2 separate regions of the Homo sapiens genome follow, and region 2 is linked to region 1. The links are contacts of gene promoters, found by promoter capture Hi-C in blood cells and fetal thymus (Javierre and others, 2016). All regions are on one chromosome and are shown on one strand. The core of a region is centred on a gene start or on the middle of the fragment in contact, and the rest is flanking DNA. Distances in the headings are between cores, read along the strand shown.

Region 1 (7,217 bases), core at 1,478-3,977:
CTGTCAGCTGTGTAGCCTTGAGCAAGCCTCTGAGCCTCACCCTGGCAGCCCTGCCTTGCAGCCCTACAGCAGGGTTGCAAGCCTTGTCCCCAGCCAGGAGGCAGGGAAGACCAGAGGGGAGGAAGACTTCCTCGGAAGTACTTTGTCCTCAGAGAGTGCCGCGATCCTGGTGGGCGGGGGCTCCAGCTTGGCCGCAGCCTCCTTGCTTGTCCTGTTCGCAAGCCAATGCTGCAAGCCCCATCAGCGATCCTTGTCGCCTTATCTGCAGGTGCAGAGGACGTGGTGATGGCGTTTTCCAGGTCGGAGACGGAAGACCGGAGGCAGTAGCTGCAAAGCCCTTGGAACACCCTGGATGCTGTTGAGGGCCAAGAGATCTGTGTGGCTCCTGGGCCGGCTGAGTGGCAGCAGCCCCCCTTGCCCCACCTCCCCCTTCCCCTACCCAACCCTGCCCTGCCCCACCCCACCTCACAGCTACTCAGTGGGGCTGGCATCAAGGGAGACACCAGTGGTGCGTTTATAATTGGCTTAAAGGGATGGACTTGTGATTGGCTGCAGGAAGAAACTTTTTTATTTTTTAAATCTTGACCAACAGAAACCTTTTATTTTTATTTCTGACTCTTATTTTTTAAAAAATTTGCGCCTCGGTATCTGGCTTCCCTGGAAGCTCTCCGAGCTCTGGTGCTTTAGTTAGGTCATTTTTTTAGAAATGTGAAGAGGTCTGATTGGCTGCTTAAACTGGAAAGGATCTGTGATTGGCTGGTTAATGGGAAACGGTTTTTTTCTTTGGCTGCAGGTGTTCTGCTGATATCAACAGCTTCCCTATTTTGAATGCAGAAAACAGGGTCTGGGACATTAGTCGTTATATTTGACTTGAAAAGAAAGAAACCAAGTGCGCTTTGCAATATTTATTACACAAAGAACTTGCTGCTGCCTTCACATTTGGGGTTTGTGTTTGATTGGCTTTCGATGCGTGTGTTTGGTTTCCCATTGGTTCACCTGTGACTCCTGTTGCCATGGATTCACCCCCCTCTGCTGCCGGCTCTGGGCCTGAGGGTCCACCTGGAGAGTACATTTGCTTTAATGAGTGCACCTGCCTCCACCAGCAAGGGGACCCCGAGAACCCTGAGCAGGGTCCACAGCTGGAAAGTTGGGCCCCTGAGGAGCTTTGTGTCGTCTTGAACGAGCAGCCCAGGGCCTAGAGGTAACCGTTAGGCGGGATTTATGTGCACTGCCTGCATGAGCTGGCAACCAGCCAGCGTCCCTTGGTGAGAAAGGGATTGCTGAGGCACCGTCCAGGCCCCACCGGCCAGGCCGCGCCCAGCAGAGGCGTACTACCCAGCTCTGTCCTCTTGGCCATCCTTCTGTGTACCACTTCCTGAGGCCTCATTTTGGGGGTCATCTTGGAAAGGGGAGGAGCTTCTCCCAGTGTGAGACCCCAAAGACTCTGGAGGTCATCTGGCGGAGGTCTCTGGGAGCCCAGAACCCACATAAAAGCCCCAGCTTGGCTCACAAGGCCCAGGAGACCTCCAGCTAAACACCAACCCCTGACCTACCCCAGCCAGGCTCCTACCTGTCTGCTGCCAGCACAGTAGGTCCCGGCCAGCTCTGGAGTTCTCTCATCGGAGGCCCATGCCCTCCACTCCACTGCCTTTGGAAGGGTCTCTCTCCAGGTCAGCCTGGAAGGGACAGTATCGTTTGTTTATGAAATGCCACTGGGACAGCTGGCTGGGCCTTCACCAAGCAAGTCCCTTCAGACTGGCCCTTAAGCCAAACTCAGGCCCAGAATTGCAGTTCAGAATGGCAGTCCTGGAGGCAGGGGGTGAGGGGCAGGTCTAGTGTTCCTGCACCAAACCTAAGTCCTTCCACCTGCCACCCCCTTCCCTGGGAGGGAGGTGGTCCTCCTATCTCCCTGGCTCACTGGCAGGTGTGGGATCTGGGGAGAGCGGCTGGAGAAAGATGCAGTCCTCAGGAAGGGGGCCGCCACCCTCCCCTATGCTGGTAGATGCTGAGGCCCCTAGGTGCCCAGGGCCAGTGGGACCCTCTCAGAACCAAATCTTTCCCCTTTCTCGGGGCTTGGGGCTCGGGCCGTAGGGGCTCCTGAGTGTCATGAAGTGCACAGGAGCCAAATGACCGAGCCCTGGAGAGCCCCATGGTGGGTAGGTGGTTCGTGCTGTGCTCTGGCACCATCAGCCTGTTCCAGAAGGAGGATTCGAGCATCAGGCTAAGACCCTGTGTCCTCCACCATGCACTCACCCCTAGCCCTGGTTAGCTGACAGTCAGCTGTGGGGAACACAGCTACAACCCTACCCTGGCAGGGACCTGAGAGCATCTCAGGAGGGGCAGCGCATGTGTGCATGTGCTGTGTGAGTGAGCACACCCGTGTGCACACTCATACACATGTGCACACACACGCACTCTCCCCGCTCAGGGGCCTGGAGGTCTGGCTGAGCCCCTGGGGAAAGGTGAGTTCTTTCATCTCCCTCCTCCAGGTCGGAGTGCCTGGAGTCAGGTGTCGAGGCCACATTGCTGGCTGCCCCCTCTTTGTAGCTCCTATAAAGGGCCCACACCTGGTGGATACCTGGTTGAGTGTGTGGTCTCTGCCCCAGCCTGTCCTTGTCACGATCACAGGCCTTGCTTTTGTAACAATGATGACCCCGGCCTGTCTCATCTTCTGAAGAGGAAAAGTCAAAGTGTTGCTGTGGCTCCATATTTCAACTAAAAATATATCTGTTGGAGAAAGAAATTAACAATAAAGAATTTTCATAGGTTCGTGTGTGAGCTGAGCTGGTTTCTCCCTCGGAATCAGGCGCTCTGACTGATTTCCCCACATCACGTGGGCTCTGCTGCTGCGGGGGCCCCTCCTTCCCAGGGAGGCGCAGCCAGGAAGGACAACACCAAGTTTGATAAGTGTCTGTGACCTGAGTTGAGCTCAGGGTTTGGAAGAATTTCTAGATCTACCCAGCCCAGCTCAAGGGTCGTTAAGAAGGTTGAACCTTCTTTTTGACCTGGAGATTCTAAACATCATTCCAGATTCAACTGAGATCAGTAAGCTTCAGAGGCAACCTCGTCTTCCACACCTATGAAAAGACACTAAGCACTCCGTAAGGATGTGGGGACCCCGCCATCCTAGGCACCCCAACATCCTGATGTGATGGCACCAGTTTTAAAATGCTTGTTACAGACACCCAAACAGAATATCTGTCCCTTCCACCATCCCAGAAGTGGAAGATATATTGGTTTTTAGCTGTATGTACAAGTTTGGAAGCTGAAATCATTTCTGCTTCAATAATTTTTGCTTCAGAAGCATTTTCTAGAAATTTTCATTTCCACCCTTCATAATCCCATTTTTGGGTCTTTTTTTTTTTTTTTCTGTTTACATAGTCTCACTGCTTCTATTTCCTTTTCAAAGAATTTCACTGGGTCCTAGAGGCTATGGAGTTTACAGAATATGAGTACAATGGCACAACCAACATCATTAAGTCTTTGTGTTGGGGGAGATACTGGGTCTTGTAGCAGCCCACGCAGTAGCTAGATGCACAAGCCCCTCTGAAACATTTCTGAAAAGACCTTGTCCAGGCTTTGCTTGAATACTCTCTCGAGTTGGGGAGCTCACTACCTCACAAGTTAGTCCAGACCATGTTCATGTAACCTATGCTTATCCTTACATTAAGTTGATCTGCCTCTTTCTGTAACTTCTTGTCCAGAAAGGAGTTTGCAGTCATTGAGAGAAAGACAGAGATTGCTGTGTTAACCAGAAGTTACATAGAGACACACATCCAAGGGTCCGTGGTAGGTAGATTATGTGCAGATTCCACCCCTTGCCCAGCGCTCTGAGTGACACTGTCAGCCTTGTAGTTAATCAGCTCTTCTAAGCTGAGCCACTGAGTAGTTCAAGGGACTGACCGGCTGGCCCTGGTCCCACCTGCCCAGCCCCCAGCAGAGAGCTTGGAAACCGGAGCCAAGCGGGGTCGTCCTCCTGGCGCTGTCTAACCTGTCTAAGCTGCCTAAACTGTCATGGGAAGTAGGCCACGTAAATGAGTCGGGGACACTTCAGCAGGCAAAGGAAAAACACTGGGGACAGCCTTGGGTCTTTCGGGGTCCGTCAGCCCACACAGCAGGCAACCTCCTGGGTCACCTTCCCAGGTACGGGATGGGGTAATGACCCCAACAGGCAGCGCTGGGACTGCTGCAGCCAGAGACAGCAGGGGGCCAGGCTGAGCCTGCGGGGAAGGAGGCAGAGCTGCCGGAGACAGCAGGGGGCCAGGCCGAGCCTGGGGTGGGGAGGCTGAGGGCTGTGGCCCTTGGTGTTTCCCAGCCTTGGGGGGCGGGCAGTTGAGAATGAATGAAGCGCTTCTTCTCCCTGTCCCTGCAGGTGAATACCAGCACTGAGAATCCAGGCGGGCCCCAGCCTTTGAAGAGGGTCTTTTTAGCAGGGAATATGATCCCTTCCATTGGTGGTAGGGGGAACTCTGGCCCCAGGGGACCCCTGACACCACCCAGGTGCCGCCTTTGCTTGGGCAGGGCAGGTTCATTTCTCTCTCTCTCTCTCTCTGTCTTTATCTCTCTCCCTCCCTCTTCTGGGTTGCCCATGGCCACCCAACCCTTTTCATTTCCCGAAGGATAAAATGCACCCAGACTAACCGACTAACCTGAGGCTGTGCTGAGAAAACGTTTCCCCGCTCTGCACTGTCCACTGAAAGCACTTGATCTTCTGGGAAACAACTGATGTTCAGGAGATTTGGGGGGACTTGCAGGGCGAGTCCTATTAGGACTTTCTAATTTGAAGAAAGTCCTTCTCAAGGGACAAGGGCAGTGAAATGCCTTTTGAATATCAACTAGTGTCTTGCTTTCACTTTTCTCCCTGACATTGGAACTTCCCCATCACAGATGGTTCCCAGAAGGGCCTTCCAGTCCTGCCAGCACGGAAGTCATGAGCGTTCTTGATGCAGGGACGAGCCACGCCCTACCCACCCTGCCCCTGCTCCTCTTCCAGAGCCCCTAGGTTAGGGGTGTGTGCAACAGGTGGTCGTCCCTGTTTGCACACCTGTGGGAGCCCCGCCCCGCCCTGCGCAACCCCAGAGGAGGTGACTTCAGACCCAGAGCCTCTGAGAGTTTCCACTGCCTGACCCTTGGTCTTGACCATGCTGCTTCCAGTGGAAGGAGGTGGATCTTCACAAACATCTTTGACAGGTGTCTCCTATGTCTCGGTCTTTTTTTTTTTTTTTTTTTTGAGACAGAGTCTTGCTCTTGTCACCCAGGCTGGAGTGCAATGGCATGATCTCAGCTCATTGCAACCTCCACCTCCTCGGTTCAAGCAGTTCTCCTGCCTCAGCCTCCTGAGTAGCTGGGATTACAGGCACCCACCACCACACCCAGCTAATTTTTGTATTTTTAGTAGAGATGGGGTTTCACCATGTTGGCCAGGCGTGAGCCACCAGGCCCAGCCGTGTGTCCCAGTGTTAACAACACAGCTAATGTTGACTGGATGGTACCTGTGTGAAGGCGCATGCTCAGTCACGTGCGAGGTATGTTCCTAGGCTGCCCCGAAGCTCCCTGGGTCTGTCTGAAGCCTCCCATGCGGACCTAGCACTTCACCTCCAAGCTAAGCTGATTTTGCCAGAGTTCCTCTTCCACTTTAAATCTTCGAGGACTGTTTGACCCCACAGCCTAAATCTTTATGTCCACATAGCTGGGGGCTGGGGAGACATCATGGTTTAGAGTGGGAACTGTGGAGGCCAACTGGAGGCAGGACTGAATCTGTCACTTGGCAGCTGTGTGACTTGGGGTGAATGATGAACCTTATTGAAAAAAATGGAAAAAATAAGAGCATCAGGGCCAGAGGTTGTTGGTGACAACTAATGAGATGATGCATATGACACGCTTAGCAGAGTGACCTGCGACCAGTGGGGGGTCAGGACATAAGGTCATTGTTAAGTCACCATAGTGGGTTCTCTCCACCCCATCCTCTCTACTCAAAAGTCACACAGAGCGAGGACTTGTCAGCAGCCTTTGGTGTGGGGAGGAGCACAGCCCCAGGTCCTGCGAGGTGCTTAGAAAATGCTTCTTTGATGAGGATGAAGGAGCCCAGATGATCCCTTTGTAGAAGCCAAGGCCAGAGCTGCCTCCAGCTCCCCAGCCCCTGCCCTGAGCCTCTCCCTCTGCTGAGCCGCTTTGCCTCGGGGACGGGGGCTCACTGGAGCAGAGCCCCTCCGCCTTCCCCAAAACCTGCCAGCTGAGAAGGGTGTCCCCTCAGGGTGGACTCTGTCATGGCTGGACAGGCAGGGAGGGACCTCGGCAGAGCCTGGGGGTGGGAGTCTTGTTTTCCAGGGACCCTCCTGCTCGCCTCGTGCTTAAACTCCAAATAGAATCACAGCCAGTCAGGAAAGGGGATAAAATTAAATCCTTGATCATGATCAAGTGGTTAAAAAAAACCCATCACAGCCAGCGGCTCCTTCTCACTGCAGCCGGCTCTGCCTCAGAGCAAATAGGAGGAGGAGGAAGAGGAGGAGGAAGACAGAGCCATCTTGGGCCCCAGCACCCCTCCCTCCCGGCCAGCCCCTCCTCCTGCCTTCCCAGCCCCCCAGGGCCCCAAGACTCCGCACCCCTCACCCCAAAGATGGGGAGGCTGGGAGGGTGGCTGCTGTGGGGGGAGGCCCACATCCTGCCCAAGGAGGCAGGGCCTGGGCTCCGAGCTCCGGAACTGCAGACCTGGGATCGAATCCAGACTCTGCCAATGACTGTGTCGTGGGCAAATCACTCGATGTTTCCGAGCCTGTTTCCTAATCTGGAACGTGGGAACAGTCATGGCAACTGCCTCATTGGCTGTTGTCTGGATTCAGTGGGTGGGCACCGGCAGTGGTGAGCCAAGGGTGGGGGGACACGGACGGGGGAGCAGCCTGCCTGGGGTTCAGGCAATAAGGGGGTGTATTGTCTGGAGAGAATTTCAAAACACTAAAACTGACAGTCTGGTCTGCTTTCTTTCTTTTGCCTCCATGCCCAGGCTACTCTAGCCCTAGGACAGAGCATGGCCACCCCCAACACTTGACATCTTTGGGCAAGAGGCCAGGCTGCTGACTCAGGACATAGGTCTAGGTGGGCCCAGCTGAGAGATGCCCCCATGGCAGTGGGTGATGCCCCGTGACCCCTCAGTGCCGCTTCCCAGCCTCAGGCCTCCATCTGCAGAACAGGAAGAGGCCACAGCTCCTCACCTTGGGCCC
Region 2 (7,217 bases), core at 1,525-4,024, 68 kb after region 1:
TCTGATAAACCCATCTTTGTAAAGTCTAAAAATCCTAAGTTGAGCCACTGTAAGTGGGGAACCATCCATATGAGTGAATAAACCGGAAAGGAACTGTTCGTGTACTGGGTTGACTGATATCAGGGCCACCCTGGGACCTGTGGTTGGCGTCTGGGCTCTGCAACCAACCTGCTGAAATCCCCGTTACTTGTGAGACTTAGGCATGGGTCCAGCCTCTCTCTCTCTTTTTCTTTTTGAGATGGAGTCTCGCTCTGTCACCCAGGCTGGAGTGCGATGGCGCGATCTCAGCTTACTGCAGCCTCCGCCTCCCAGGTTCCAGCTATTCTCCTACCTCAGCCTCCTGGGTAGCTGGGATTATAGGCGTGTGCCACCACGCCCGGCTAATTTTTGTATTTTCAATAGAGGCGGGGTTTTACCATGTTGGCCAGGTTGGTCTTGAACTCCTGACCTCAGGTGATCTGCTTGCCTTGGCCTCCCAAAGTGCTAGGATTACAGGTGTGAGCCACCACGCCCGGCCCGGGTCTAGCCTCTCTTTAGCCCACAGAGTTGGGTTGTGCTGGGGCAGCATAGCTTATATTCATGTTAATCCTAAAGTTGATTATTGTATTTTTTTCATCTTGACTTAAAAATCAAATAATTTCTAATGACTGAAATCTACCATAACCCTAAAAAATGAGTCATATCCTGAAATGATAGGTGTGTGCCTAGCTACAGCCTGCACTTGTAGAAGGTTTGATTGCCAGCTTTGCTTTTGCATAGTTTTAAATTAATACATTCAAAGTTTAGTTTTTTTTTGAAACACATTACTTACCTAATAACTTATTAAATAACCATTCAAGATTTATTAGTCAAGGACTCAAATTACTTTTATGTAAGAAAAGTAAACAGGAGTTTGGCATGTTTGCTATGTTTCATTTTACACATTTTTTTAGGCCTCCATTTATAGGGTATAAAACTTTAAGAAAACATTCTCATTAGCTGTAAATGATTCGAATTGCAAATAATACTAACCTAAGCATTGTCATTACTTTTAAAATCTAAGTTTCTAGAAGTTTAAATTTTTACTCAATACAAAAATGACCTGGTTCACATTATTAGCTGCCCAACAAACTGTTTAAAAAACTAAGTATTCTTTGTTAAAGATCAGATTGCAAGAAATGTTTTCCATGCTCTTATTTTAAAAAACAAGATTCCGACATACATAATGAATCTAAATCAGAATTCACCAATGGTGGCTGAAATAGTGTCAGCTTTCAGCCCAATACAATATAAATCCACAGTTATAATGCATAAACAATTCAAAGTTAAAATTTATAGTGGAAATGTCAACAAGTCACAACTACTACACATTACTACTGATGGGTTCCACTACAGGCACAGCAGATGTGCACATCTGATAGACTGCTTAGAAAATTAAAGCTATCAAAGCTATAAATAAAGAATACATAAATATGAACATGGCGATGTGGAAGCATTAGAGCCGTTAAAAAAAGTGAATAAGCTGGGCGCGGTGACTCACTCCTGTAGTCCCAGCACTTTGGGAGGCCGAGTTGGGCGGATCACCTGAGGCCGGGAGTTCAAGACCAGCCTGACCAACATGGAGAAACCCCATCTCTACTAAAAATACAAAATTATCCAGGTGTGGTAGTGCACTCCTGTAATCCCAGCTACTTGGGAGGCTGAGGCAGGAGAATCGCTTGAACCCGGGAGGCAGAGATTGCAGTGAGCCGAGATCACGCCACTACACTCCAGCCTGGGTGACAAGAGCGAAACTCCGCCTCAAAAAAAAAAAAAAGAATAAGATGTGATGTAAACACATCTGATAGTTCTGTCTGTAAGCCACTTTCCACTGATTTATAATGCTATGGTTTTATAATTCTTTTAAAAAGGAAAATTTTTCTACACTGCTGCATTCAGTATCATTGTACATTCTCGACTACAGTGCAATCTTTAAATCCTCTTGCAGAGCTTGACATATCTCATCAGAATTTCCCCAGAAAATCAGCTTGTCATATTTTCAGCAGCCTTTAGTGCTTCAGTAGCCTTGCGAAGCTCCTTAATAACTGATGATAAAGCTTCTGGGTTAATTTCTTGTTCACAAAGCCGTACACAAATAGGAGTTTCCATATCTAAGCCAGCATTCTAAATTCTTGAAATCTCAAGCAGAATGTGTGATTAGTACAGGTTGGATACTCTTAATCCCAAAACCTGAAATGTGAAATGCTCCAAAATCCGAAACTTTTTAAGCACCGACATGACACCACAGTGGAAAATTCCACACCTCATGTGATGGATCAAAGTCAAGATGCAGGTGCACAACACACAGTTTATTCAGCATCCTGTCCATGGTCTCCCGCACCGCATTTGGATTCGCTGCCACGGCTACTCGCCATGGCTGAGGCCAAGGGAGGCAGGAGAAGCAGTTTAGTTTGTTTTTTAAAACCTCCTAGAATGTGATGAAATGAGTCAGGTATAGACTTCCGACATAGGTGACACGTTCCTAGACTTGCAGCCAGTAGTCTCTTGTCTTTGCCATTTTTTTGTGATGATGACAGAAACATCGGTCACTTGTTTCTGTAAATGTTTTATGATGCAAATTGAATGTGATGAAATATTAAAAATATCACTCATTAAATATTTAAAAGTTCAGTGTTTGGAACTGGCCAGATCTCATTCTACTGCCAGCTTAAGAGCGATTTAGAAAATTTGAATTATAAAATTGGAATACTGGGAACATAGTTACACAGTTATTTTTCCACCGAACCCTTAACCATTTCAGCTGCAGGCCTTTCCATTTGGGCAGCAGAAACACACATTTTACGTTACTACTCATCATGGGTTTTCTGTAATGTGCTCTGCCTGGTATTTTTACATCCCCGTTGGGCTAAATAAAGACATAAATTCATTTAGTTTAAGTCTCAGGAGTTTTATGGACTCAAATATTAGAAGAATATTTAGTTTTAGTATTTATAGTGCTTGTAATTTTATTAATAAAACCTTAAAGTATGAAGCCAAATTGGAATCGAATATTAATTTGATTAGTGGCAAATTGAACTAGCAATTTTTGCTTTAAAATGAAAGATTGGAGGCCGGATGCCGTGGCTCATGCCTGTAATCCTGGCACTTTGGGAGGCCAATGCAGGCAGATCACCTGAGGTCTGAAGTTCGAGACCAGCCTGGCCAACATGGTGAAACCCCATCTCTACTTAAAATACAAAAAAATTAGCCGAGTGTGGTGATGCACGTCTGTAATTCCAGCTACTCAGGAGGCTGAGGCAGGAGAATCACTTGAACCTGAGAGGCAAAGGTTGCAGTGAGCCCAGATTGCACCATTCATTGCACTTCAGCCTGGACCACAGAGTGAGACTCCATCTCAAAAAAAAAAAGAAAGTGAAAGATTGGTAACAAACAATGGAGTTTTTGGAGTCCTTTCTTTAAAATGGCCTATCTTACATCTGTAACTCTAAGCTTCTTCCAGCCTACATCATAGCATGGTTTATTTTCATAGATACCTGAGCTGGATGTTGTAGCTCACACTTGTAATCCCAGCACTTTGGGAGGCCATGGTGGGAGAATTGCTTGAGCTCAGGAGTTTGACACCAGCGTGGGCAACATAGCAAGACTTCATCTCAACTAAAAAAACTTTTTTTTTTGTTTTTTGAGACAGAGTTTCACTCTTGTCGCCCAGGCTGGAGTCAAACTCCATGGTTTCTCCATGTTGGAGTGGTGCGATCTTGGCTCACTGCAACCTCCACCTCCCGGGTTCAAGCGATTCTCCTGCCTCAGCCTCCTGAGTAGCTGGGATTACGCCTGGCTAATTTTTGTATTTTTGGTAGAGACGGAGTTTCACTATGTTGGCCAGGCTGGTCTTGAGCTCCTCACCTTAGGTAATTGGCCTGCCTTGACCTCCCAAGGTGCTGGGATTACAGGCATGAGCCACTGCACCCGTCCTAAAAATTTTTTTAAAAAGATAATCTGGAGAGGATGTTGAGTTTCAGTGGTTAGATAAAGTGTTCAACCTGATTGCAAAGTCAAGTTATTCTCTCAGAGAGCCGTTTCAGACCTGATGCTGGTGCAGTCTGTGCGTAAAGCTCCCACAGACAGCCTCACACATACCTCCTGCCGGCAGACCCCCTGCTGCTCCAGGGAGGCTCGCAGGAGAAAGGTGCCGTACCATAGCCAGCCTTCTTCTTCTTCTTCTTCTTTTTTTTTTTTTTTGAGACGAAGTCTCTCGCTTCTCTCCCAGGCTGGAGTGCAATGGCACGGTCTTGGCACACTGCAACCTCTGCCTCCTGGGTTCAAGCGATTCTCCTGCCTCAGCCTCCTGAGTAGCTGGTATTACAGTTGCCTGCCACCACGCCCGGCTAATTTTTGTAATTTTTTTTTTTTAGTACAGACGGGGTTTTACCATGTTGGCCAGGCTGGTCTCGAACTCCTGACCTCAGGTGATCCACCCGCCTTGGCCTCCCAAAGTGCTAAGATTACAGGCGTGAGCCACCGCATCCGGCCCCTTATTCTCTTCTTAGCCAGTCTCTTGTTTCAGAGCAGCCTATGGACGGGGGGAGAAGACGGATTTCAAAGACACTTTTATTTTTGGTCTTTATGGTCTGGGTTTGATTTCATATTAAGTCCCTCTGTAATCTAACCTTCCATAACTTAACCTTTTCCAGACTGATGTCTTTTGACCTGTTGGTTTCGTGCGTTGTCTCTAGATTTTCTAGCTCTCTTGCTCAGAACATCCACCTGGAGAAACAAACAAAAATAAAAAAAAACACCTTCGCAGTATCTTTTGAATTCCCAGCTCCAAAGCTATCTTCTCCATGAGAGAATTCATAAATCAGGGCAACTGATCTGATTTGCGCATTTGAGGTTTCTTATATACTCATTTCCCAAATAGTTCCTGCATGTGTGCTAAGCATAATTCCAGGTACTGGGAATTAGAGAATGAAAAGGCCACTTTCTCACAGTCTGCGTGTGTGTGTGTGTGTGTGTGTGTGTGTGTGTGTGTGTGTGTGTGTTGGGGAGGAGAAATAACACCACCACCTTTTGATACTTACTGAGTGCCAGACACTCTTCTGAACATTTTATATGTAATGAACTGTGATTGCATGTTTAATCACACAACGACCTATGAGATGGGGACTATTATTGTCCCCATTTTCTAGATGAGGAAGCGAAGGCCCTGAGGTCGCGGGCCCTTTGGAGCCCAGGCAGGTCCCACCCAGGCCTTTGGGCACTGGGCTCCAGTGCCCTCCCCTGCCGTCTTCTCCCCAGGTGTTGGAACAGAGGGACAGAGCGAGGTTGGTGAGAGCAGCAGGAAGGACCTTTTCAACAGAGCCCGAGTGAGATACTGAGTCCCTGAAACCCTGGCAGGATGCGAGAGGGCAGAACTGTAACAATATTAAGACATTATTTGCCGTTTTCTCATCCTCTTAGGCTGCACTGTGGCATTTTCTAGAGACTATGTTAAGGGGAGCAAGGCAGCAGGCTGAGTGCAGGGGGAGCGGGGGTAGAGACGAGAACTCAGGTGTCTTCTGTGAAGGTGGACAACAAAGATTTGCAAAAACAAAACTGTTGCCACTCTTCTTAGTAAGCTTTGTTTTCAAAAAGTTATTTTCATAAAAATATTGTTTATGTGAATGTATTATATAATGTGTTTGTTTTTTAAATGAGTTAATAAGTATTAAAATTATCTTTTTTGTTGTCGTCGTTGTTTTTTGAGACATAGTCTCGCTCTGTTGTCCAGGCTGGAGTGCAGTGGCGAGATCTTGGCTCACTGCAACCTTTACCTCCCGGTTTCAAGTGATTCTCCTGCCTCAGCCTCCTGAGTAGCTGGGACTACAGGTGTGTGCCACCACGCCCAGCTAATTTTTGTATTTATAGTAAAGACAGGAGGATTTTACCATATTGGTCAGGCTGGCCTTGAACTCCTGACTTCAAGTGATCCGCCTGCCTTGGCCTCCCAAAGTGCCAGGATCACAGGCTTGAGCCACCACTCCCAGGCTTTTTTTTTTTTTTTTTTTTGAGACAGTCTCGCTCTGTCGCCCAGGCTGGAGTGCAGTGGTACAATCTTGGCTCACTGCAACCTGCACCTCCCAGGTTCAAGCAATTCTCCTGCCTCAGCCGCCCGAGAAGCTGGGTCTACAGGTGCGTGTCACCACACCCGGCTAATTTTTGTATTTTTAGTAAAGACAGGAGGGTTTCACCATGTTGGCCAGGCTGGTCTCAAACTCCTGACCTCAAGTGATCTGTGTGGCCAGCCTCCCAACACGCTGGGATTACAGGCATGAGACACTGCTCCTGGACTGGTTTTAATTTTCAGTGTAGTAAATGCTGATAGATAGATAGATAGATAGATAGATAGATAGATAGATAGATAAATGCTGATAGATGATAGATAAATGCTGATAGATGATAGATAAATGCTGATAGATAGATAGATAGATAGATAGAGATAGGTGGGTGGATGGATGGATAATCAACTGACTGACCAATCCATTTAAACAAAAGCTATTTGGGTCCCTCAGTAACTTTTTGGTGTACAGGGGTTCTGAGACCCCAAAGTTGAAGACCCATTGTTGTAGAAGCTTCCCTCTGGCTGCCGAGTAAGTGCCGGGATAAGGACAGGGAGGCTTGTTACTTGGCTTTTGTGACCTTTCAGGAAGGAGGTAAGAAATGGCTGTGTCTGAGTTTGTGTGTATGTGGATTTTTTTTTTTAAATGTAAACTACAGCAAAATTTTCCTGTCTACCATTTTGAAGCGTTCAGTTCAGTAGCATCAAGTACATTCACACTATTGTGCAACCAACCTCCAAATTCCTTTCATCTCACAAAACCGAAATTTTATACCCATTAAACAACAACTCCCCGGGGTCTGGGTTTATTTAGGAAGTGAAGCCAGAAGGATTTGCTCTTGGCTTGGATGTAGTGTGTACAAATGTCTGGTAAATGTTTCATTAATTAGAGAGGAGGCAGCGGCTTGGCGCAGTGGCTCACGCCTGTAATCCCAGCACTTTGGGAGGCGAGGTGGGCGGAACACGAGGTCAGGAGTTGGTAGACCAGCCTGGCCAGCATGGTGAAATCCCGTCTCTACTAAAAATACAGAAACTGAGCGTGGTGGTGAGCGCCTGTAGTCCCAGCTACTCGGGAGGCTGAGGCAGGAGAATTGCTTGAACCTGAGAGGCGAAGGTTGCAGTGAGCTGAGATCGCGCCATTGCA

Evidence for each region. The method cuts DNA at HindIII sites, captures the fragments that hold promoters and counts their contacts. A CHiCAGO score of 5 or more calls a contact.
Region 2: a contact is called between a fragment that was not itself captured here and the fragment with the promoter of CTNNBIP1-AS1 in region 1, in 3 of 17 cell types (M2 macrophages, total CD8 T cells and total B cells). The highest score is 5.7, in M2 macrophages.

The regions. Positions count from the first base shown.
Region 1 is chr1:9,843,828-9,851,044 of GRCh38, reverse strand. CTNNBIP1-AS1 (CTNNBIP1 antisense RNA 1) reads right to left here and starts at 2,727. Exons shown (of 3, transcript NR_199045.1): 1 at 2,579-2,727; 2 at 1,571-1,676; 3 at 891-1,059. CTNNBIP1 (catenin beta interacting protein 1) reads left to right here. Exons shown (of 6, transcript NM_020248.3): 6 at 269-2,769. The coding sequence ends at 327. LOC105376717 (a long non-coding RNA gene) reads right to left here and starts at 380. Exons shown (of 2, transcript XR_946952.3): 1 at 1-380. RefSeq lists enhancers at 823-872, 953-1,092, 2,227-2,728, 6,790-7,217. The HindIII fragment of the contact is 10,320 bases long and covers 1-3,052 here.
Region 2 is chr1:9,776,025-9,783,241 of GRCh38, reverse strand. The region is part of intron 1 of CLSTN1 (calsyntenin 1); the gene reads left to right. It also overlaps the pseudogene MZT1P1. Among named protein-coding and RNA genes, the nearest start is that of CLSTN1, 44 kb to the left of the region's middle. The HindIII fragment of the contact is 1,393 bases long and covers 2,078-3,470 here.